Regions from separate parts of the Homo sapiens genome. Here region 2 is linked to region 1. The links are contacts of gene promoters, found by promoter capture Hi-C in blood cells and fetal thymus (Javierre and others, 2016). All regions are on one chromosome and are shown on one strand. The core of a region is centred on a gene start or on the middle of the fragment in contact, and the rest is flanking DNA. Distances in the headings are between cores, read along the strand shown. Region 1 holds the start of CCT8 (chaperonin containing TCP1 subunit 8). Region 2 overlaps TIAM1 (TIAM Rac1 associated GEF 1).

Region 1 (3,813 bases), core at 1,008-3,507:
ATGACAAATAATTCTGTCATTACAACTGTGGTAAGTGCTATGAAGGAGAAACACAGAAGCTATGAGAATGACAAACAGGGAATGTCTTGGGAGTCATCAAAGACTTTCTAATGAAAGTGTCTGCATACTGAGGTAGAATTAATTCAGCCATAAGGGAATAGAAGAGCATTTTAGGTAGGAAGAACAGCAGAGGCAAAGACCCTGAGGCAGAAGTGGTAAAGCAGACAGCACGAACTATTCCAGGTACTGGGGCCAGAATACAAGACATTAATGCCAAATGGAGAAGATACCAGTGAGACAAGGACCAGAACCTAGGCCTCAAAGTCACTTTAAATATAGATTAATATATATTAATATGTTAATCAGGTGTCATTTTAGCTCCTTTCAGTTTTATTTCAATTTTATTTTGTGTTAGCTATTTTTATAAGTAATATTATCTCTGAGTCAGAGGAATGTGCTTTTGTTTATTTCTTAGCTAATCCAGGAAAAATCTTGGATTGTTCTGTTGTTCGGGACTGATCATTACAGTAGTTCTCTAACGTATCAGTCTCAGAACACCTTTAGACTCTTAAAAATTAACTTCCCCAAAGGTCTTTTGTTTATGTGGGTTATAGGTATGAATATTTGCTATATTAGAAATTAAAACTGATAAATTTTTAACGTTATTTAAAAAATAATAATCCTATCACATGATAATATGTATGTTTTTATTTAAAATATCTCTATTTTCCAAGAATGAAAAGGGTGGCTGTATTAGTCCGTTCTCGAATCGCTATAAAGAACTACCTGAGACTGGGTAATTTATAAAGAAAAGAGGTTTAATTGGCTCACAGTTCCACAGGCGGTACAGGAAGCATGGCTGGGGAAGCCTCAGGAAGCTGACAATCAAGGTGGAAGGTGAAGGGGAAGCAGACACATCCTACAAGGCTGGAGGAGGAGGAAGAGACAGAGTGGGGAGGTGCCACACACTTTTAAACAACCAGGTCTTATGAGAAGTCACTCACTATCACAAGAACAGCTGGGGATTATAATTCCACATCATATTTGGGCAGGCAATTCAAACATATCAGTGGCATTTACATTTTTGCAAAAATCCAAACCATATCAGTGGCATTTACATTTTTGCAATTTTTTTTTTTTTTTGAGACAGGGCCTCACTCTTGCCCAGGCTGGAGTGCAGTGGCATGATCTCAGCTCACTGCTGCCTCAACCTCCCAGGCTCAAGCAGATCCTCCAACCTTAGCCTCCCAAGCAGCTGAGACTACAGGTGCATGCCACCAAGCCAAAGGGATTTATATTTATCTATAAATTCATATATAAATCAGATATATTTATATAAAATGTGTATATTATATATATAAATCAGATAAATAAATATGTATTTATATCTGATCTTAAAAGAGTAAAAGGGATTTATATTCCCAGGAAGAAGTAGAAAAGAGGAATATAGATAGTGGTTAAGAACCGGCATTTTGCAATAAGTCTGATCTAGATAGGAATTCTAGCTTTAATATTTACTAGCTCTGTGATCTTGGGAAAATTATTTACAGTTTGTGAACTTCAGTTTCCCTTCTACAAAATAGAGACAGTACCATTTAATTTTTAATTTTTAATGGTATCGTCTCCATTTTATGGAAGGAAAACTAAATGGTATTTTAACCGACAATTCATTAATTTTTAAGACTGACCATTAACAGAGATACTGCATGTAAAGCAGATCACACAGAATATGGCACACTTGAGCACTTGATGTGTACTACATTACTCTTAGTGACGACTTTAATTATCGTGCGCATTCCCAGCGCTTCCTATGGTGCCCAACACAGAGCGGACGCCTAGAGACAATTTTGGGGGATGGGGCAGATGCTCTGCCTCGGGAAAAAAAAAGCACACCTGCCCTGACGTTGGTGGCTGGGTCTGGAAGATACGTGGAAATTAAGCTAAGGATGTGTGGCTTCCAGATCAAAAACCGCAAAAATCTAACGCCGTGACTACTGACTACGGTCAGAGAGCACAGACTGGAGCAACCTCTCACGGCCTGGGCTGTCTGCGCGTGCGTGAGCCAGAAACCCGAGGGGCTCCCTGGGCCCGCCCTATCGATCGACCCGATCGGGGATCGTCAGCTTGGTTCTGGCCACAGAGGTTGCTCTTCTCGCGATGCTTCAGACCTGGCGGCAGGGAAAGGGTGGGCTAATTGGAGAGCCAGGAAGAGCGTGAGGCGGCCCCACGCTGCTTTCCCAGAAGGCTGTGCGTGCTCCTCGCTTCCTCCGCGGTCTTCCGAGCGGTCGCGTGAACTGCTTCCTGCAGGCTGGCCATGGCGCTTCACGTTCCCAAGGCTCCGGGCTTTGCCCAGATGCTCAAGGAGGGAGCGAAAGTAAGGGCTGAAGGAAAGGAATGAGGTGGGAGCGTCAGCATAGGGCTGCGGCGGCCGCGGCGAAGTAGGAGGGCCTACTAACGGGCTGAGCGTGCTGCCCTGGCTCAGCGGCCGGGGGAAGAGAAGATTCCAGAAAGGGAGGTGATTTTGGAAGGGCTCGGCCACCGGAGCCTGCGGGCACTTCTCTTCTTCCGCGACCGGGAGAAGGCCGAGGGATCGGCGGCACGATCGACATTGTACACCTTGAAGGTGGACGGATGTGAAGCCGCGCGTGCGTTTTGCCTCCATCCGTAAATGGGGCTAAGGCCCGTCACCCTTAAAGGAGGTTGTGAGGGTGAAATTGAATAACGTAGATGAAATTGTCTTGAGAACTGCGACGTCGATTATCACATAGCTCGCGAGTTGTAGGATGGGGAAGAACGAGAACTAGCCGATCCAGAGAAGAGAGTGGGAAAAAGGGCCGGGTCTTGGTTGCTTGCTTCCCAGTGAGAAACATACGGCTTTCAGCTTAGTTGACAGAAGCCATGCGTTGTAGCCAAATGAGTTCCGGTCCCAACTTATGTTAGCTGGCTTAATCTAAAATGTAACTTTCTTGGGTTTTGTTTCCTTCGTCTTTAAATTATGGAGATTGGACCAAGAGGTGGTGTCTTTGAGTTCTGTGTAATCTGCAGGATAAGTGATAGAGGGGTGCAGATAACACTTTTGTTTAATGGCCTTTTCTTGAACGTTAGTTCGGTAGCATAGTTTTAAAAAATATCTTACTGCACTATTGATAAATTTGTCTCTTGTGCTATTCAAATTGCATTCCTCTGTGTGTCCTCCAGATTTTGTTAATTCAAGAAATAGATCAGTGTGGTTGAATTTAAGGTTTTATGCGAGGTACGGGGAGCATTAACAGTTTAATAGAACTAGGTTCATGTTTGTAGGATGCACTTTTCAAATAATGTCGGTATAGTAAGTAAATGTCAGGGTTCAAGGTAAATGTTGGTGGAATAATCTTTTGAAAATGATATGGGCTGATTCCCTTGAAAAAATCAGGCTGAGATAATAGCTTCCAATTTGGGTTTTTTTCACTAATACAGTTTTGGAAAACTCGTGTATCACAAAACATTATTTGTCATTCCAGTGCTAGTAGTTTTTTACAGAACACTGAGCTATTTCTTTCAATAAATAGGTACTGAAGGAACTGCAGTGAAAGACAAAAGTCCCATTTGTCGTAGAGTTTATGTCCTTCTAAGGCAGAAATAATGATTAAATAAAAGGAGAATTCCAAATAATGATGAAAGAAACTGCACTATAGTAGAGGATGACAGGAGGTAAAAATGTCTGTAAAAGAAGGATCAGGAATAGACAGAACACTTAGACGTTTAGGGAAGAACTCTTAGCTCAGTGCTTAGTGAGAGAAGCCCCTGAGCCTGGGCTGTTTCCCCCGACCTCTT
Region 2 (3,989 bases), core at 294-2,793, 2.1 Mb before region 1:
AGGTACCCAAATTATATTCAGATTTTCACAAAAGTAATTCCTGATCCTTGTGGTTCCCTCTTAGTGGCAATGTGAAGTAACAGCCTAGAATGGATTGATGAAGTTTGTAAAGAGGAATAGGAACATTTATCAGTATCTGCTGGTAACAGCAGGTTTATTGTAAAATGGTAACATTCTAGGAACACAAGGTACCTGAATTGGGTCTTCAACCAACATTCCTTAAGATATCTCTGAAGGCAAATAGGTTCACAGAGAACAAAGCTGGCAAAGAAACAGCTTTTTGATGAAACTGGGCCTTCAACCTCCTACCCCCATGTTAAACTCTGGGGAGTTAGGCTAAGAAATCCCTTTTGCTTAACTAGGAGGAAGAAGAATGCAAGAGGGCATTTCCCCTTAAAAGAAGTCCTTAAAAATGCTGACTCAGTCGGGCATCCCAGTCCTTAGTAAGGTGGAGGCCTCCCAGCAGAACTCTTTCTTGGGGTTTGGGAGGAGGATTCAGAAGGGAACCAGTGGAAGCCCCAGAGAGAGGCTGTGGCCAGAGGGAGCACCCTGACCCCCTAGTCCACTTGCCCTGGGAAGCTTGTCCAGAGAAAAACCCTGTGCACAGGAACAGCATCAGCCCATTTTCAGTTGTGTAACAAATAACTGGAAATCTCAGTGGTTCTCTACAACAGATATTTATCTCGTATGTGGCTTTGTAGGTCAACCAAGGTTTGGTTTCTCTTGGTTAGCTCCAGTTCTGAAGGTTCTGGTGTGCTCCTTGTCTCTTCCTTCCAGGATCCAGGCTGAAGCAGCAATGGCTGTCTTGGGCAAGTCCTTCCCATGGCTGGAAGGTGGGCTCTAAGTCACATGCCTACACCCAAAGTCATCCGGGCGGCGATGTGTGTACCCTGCCTAGTCTAGTGGGAGGTGCTGGAAAATCACATGGCAGAAGGTGCAGATAATGTAATTCTGTTGGAAGAAGTAGAGTTTGGACAGTCTACCATGTTGGCCTTTAATCACTTTTAAAGACGTACTCCCAGGGGCTGTGGCCTCTGGGAATTTGTCTTTTGTATGTAACTCCTCCTCTTCTATGTGGGTCTTCGGGGGATAGGTAGTGGAGACTATGTCATTACCTTGGCTGATCATATCCTGGGGGTTTGGTTGATGAGTTACTTAATATCTATAGACAAAATAATATGGCTGCTTAAAAATTATTTTAACCCTTGATTGTACTAATGGTACTATAGCTTAGTAATAATGACAGTGATGATTATAATAATTTCAATCAAGGGAGGCAACAATACCTCTGTATCCTGTACTGCTGGAGCCACATCTCAGCACGGTAGCCTGTTTTGGTGGCTCGAGAAGGGCAATCCAAACTGCACTGTGTTCAGTGGCGGGTCGCCAGGTTGCTGCTGTATAGGAAACCCAGCTAGATTTGGAAGGAGGCCAGTGACTGCAGTGAGAAAAGCAGACGGGACTGTTGTGAGGCATAGACGTTGAACTTGCATCAGACTCTCTGGATCATCGTGTCTAGATGGCTCTGCAACCAGCACTTGTCTGTCGGAGACAGTTTAGCGTGTGACCGCTGGGGGTGAGCGACTAAACCTCATGGTCTCTTGGGATTCCAGCATTCACGCTGCCTGTGCCAATAGAGGAATCTTCAAACTCTTTATTGGCTTCTCTCTCCCTCATCTAAAGTGAAATAAAGTCGTCTTTGAAATGGATTGGAAGAAGAAATAATTTGCCTACATTTCCCAAAAGTGGATATTCACTGGTGGAAATGTCTGCAGTTATCTGGGGGTGGATCTTTGTCATGGACGGCCATTAGCATCTCCTTGGGAAACTGTCTCTGAACACAAAACATCTCCAGTTTTGTAGATCAGTTTTGACAGACTAACTGCATGTGAATTTCAGAGCCCCAGTTTGTACCTATTTGCCATCCTTTTCTGAAATTCTAGTAGACAAGCATGGAATAAATGGGGAAAAAAAAGATGAGCCTTTTCTCTCCCCTGTATTCCATGTGTTTCTTTGGGAATGGAGAGGATTTATTTTTCAATTAGGAGATTTCATATGAATTAAAGGATTTTTTTTTTCGTTAAAATTTCATTGTATTGTTCCTAGCTCAAACTTGGCTAGAACATAATGATACTATTATTTCCCATTGGAAAGGTTAACTGGATATTGTATCTTCAGCCTGTTTTGATGGGAGGTGGTGTTTATTGAGACAGTCACAAATCGAAAATATTTTTAAAAAATGTAGTCTGTCATTTTGGTGCGATTTCTTTTCTCAAAAACATGAAATTGACAAGTAAAAATTTTATATATTTATGGTGTACAACATGATGTTTTGATATGTTACATTGTGGAATGGCTAAATCCAGCAGTTTAACTTAGCATTATCTCACATATTTAAGCAAATGTTTTTAGGAGCAGTATTTTCTTGAAGTAAAATTAATATCAGCATGCTGAATTTTCAAACATCATGAAAATCTGAGTATTGATAACACCACCCAGTAAGCTTTGTCACGTCTCTGGCTTTCAGGTTGCAGATCTGAGCATGGGAGACCTGCTTTTGCACACTACCGTGATCTGGCTGAACCCGCCGGCCTCGCTGGGCAAGTGGAAAAAGGAACCAGAGTTGGCAGCATTCGGTGTGTATCAGAAAAGCGTTTTATGGAGGGGGAAAAGTCTAGCTTAGTTTTCAAAACAAGAACATTTCTTTTTCAAGACCCAATTGATTAAAAATAAAGTTAATTGCAGTTACTTGAATCGGTCTTCCTGCCGTAGCCACCAACATCTCACAAACACTAAATGAAACCTTCGAGTTAAATTGCCCTATGTGGTCACTCAGCCACATGGGTGGGCGGAAATGGCTGTGCCCAAGTCTATCCCAGACATAAACACAGAGGCAGGAAAAGAATTTTTTTTTTTTTGGCTGCTGCTCTGCGTGTCTTTTCAAAATAATGGGTTAATTATAAACCAAGGAAAAATAAAGTGAAAAATCAAGACAAAATGGCCTCTGTTTCTGAGACCCCCCAGTCCTAGATCTTTTATTTGCTTCCTGACTTTGTTGCTGTTTGGTCTTAAGGCCAGGATTTAGGATGCTGGTTCTCAGCTGAGCTGTTGTGGCAACTCTGGAGTGCCTGGATCAGCTGTGAGGTGCATCCCAATCGCATTGCCACTCAATACTAGTGAAATTAGAGATGTTTGCGAATGACTTATTTTTTAATAAACCAGTTTAGATGGATGCAGTTGCTGCAATTAGAGATCTCATGTGATTGTATTGTAATATGCTTTTTGAGAGAGAGAAAAAACATGGGTTAGCATATAATTTAGGAAACATAGCTTGTTGTTGCAATGTAAATGCTTATTGGCATATTGCTGTGTTGTTCATGAATATAAAACTATCAACACTCCATGCTTTTGTTTTAGGTTGCGTTTTGTCCTAGCCTCTTGCTAAAAGACTCATGGGTAGGAACATAATATAATGGAAATCTGCCTTATTCTCTTGCCTTATATTATTTTTGTGGGCTTGCTGGGAACGGAGGTTGCTTTCTCCTTCTTAACTAAACTTTTTTTTTTCCTCCATGATGTGAACAAAGTATCCCCAAATGGAATGTCCTAGTGATTTTAAAATCAAAGTATTTAATGCAAAGATCCATTGGACTTTGTATTTCAATGACTTAGCCTTCATTGAAAAGTTACTAATATTCCCAAAATTTCCAAAGAGCCCCTGTAGCTGTTGAGGTCATTTCATTAAAAATAACAAAGGAGGCCAGGTGTGGTGGCTCACACCTGTAATCCCAGCACTTTGGGAGGCCAAGGTGGACGGATCACTTGAGGTCAGGAGTTCAAGACTAGCCTGGCTAATATGGTGAAACCCCGTCCTTACTAAAAATACAAAAATTAGCTGGATGTGGTGGCAGGTGCCTGTAATCCCAGCTACTTGGGAGGCTAAGGCAGGAGAATCGCTTGAACCCTGGAGGCAGAGGTTGTAGTGAGCT

The links. Contacts are between HindIII fragments. The CHiCAGO score rates a contact against its expected background, and 5 or more counts as called.
Region 2: a fragment that was not itself captured here is called in contact with the fragment with the promoter of CCT8 in region 1 in 1 of 17 cell types (naive CD4 T cells); the score reaches 8.2 in naive CD4 T cells.

Annotation. Positions count from the first base shown.
Region 1 is chr21:29,072,092-29,075,904 of GRCh38, reverse strand. CCT8 (chaperonin containing TCP1 subunit 8) reads left to right here and starts at 2,257. Exons shown (of 15, transcript NM_006585.4): 1 at 2,257-2,374. The coding sequence starts at 2,315. RefSeq lists enhancers at 1-485, 2,032-2,201, 1,362-2,273, 2,652-2,821, 2,274-3,185. The HindIII fragment of the contact is 10,437 bases long and covers 1-3,813 here.
Region 2 is chr21:31,134,580-31,138,568 of GRCh38, reverse strand. It overlaps TIAM1 (TIAM Rac1 associated GEF 1), which reads left to right. Exons shown (of 28, transcript NM_001353694.2): 23 at 2,528-2,636. Among named protein-coding and RNA genes, the nearest start is that of KRTAP19-8, 98 kb to the right of the region's middle. RefSeq lists an enhancer at 1,453-1,502. The HindIII fragment of the contact is 1,924 bases long and covers 582-2,505 here.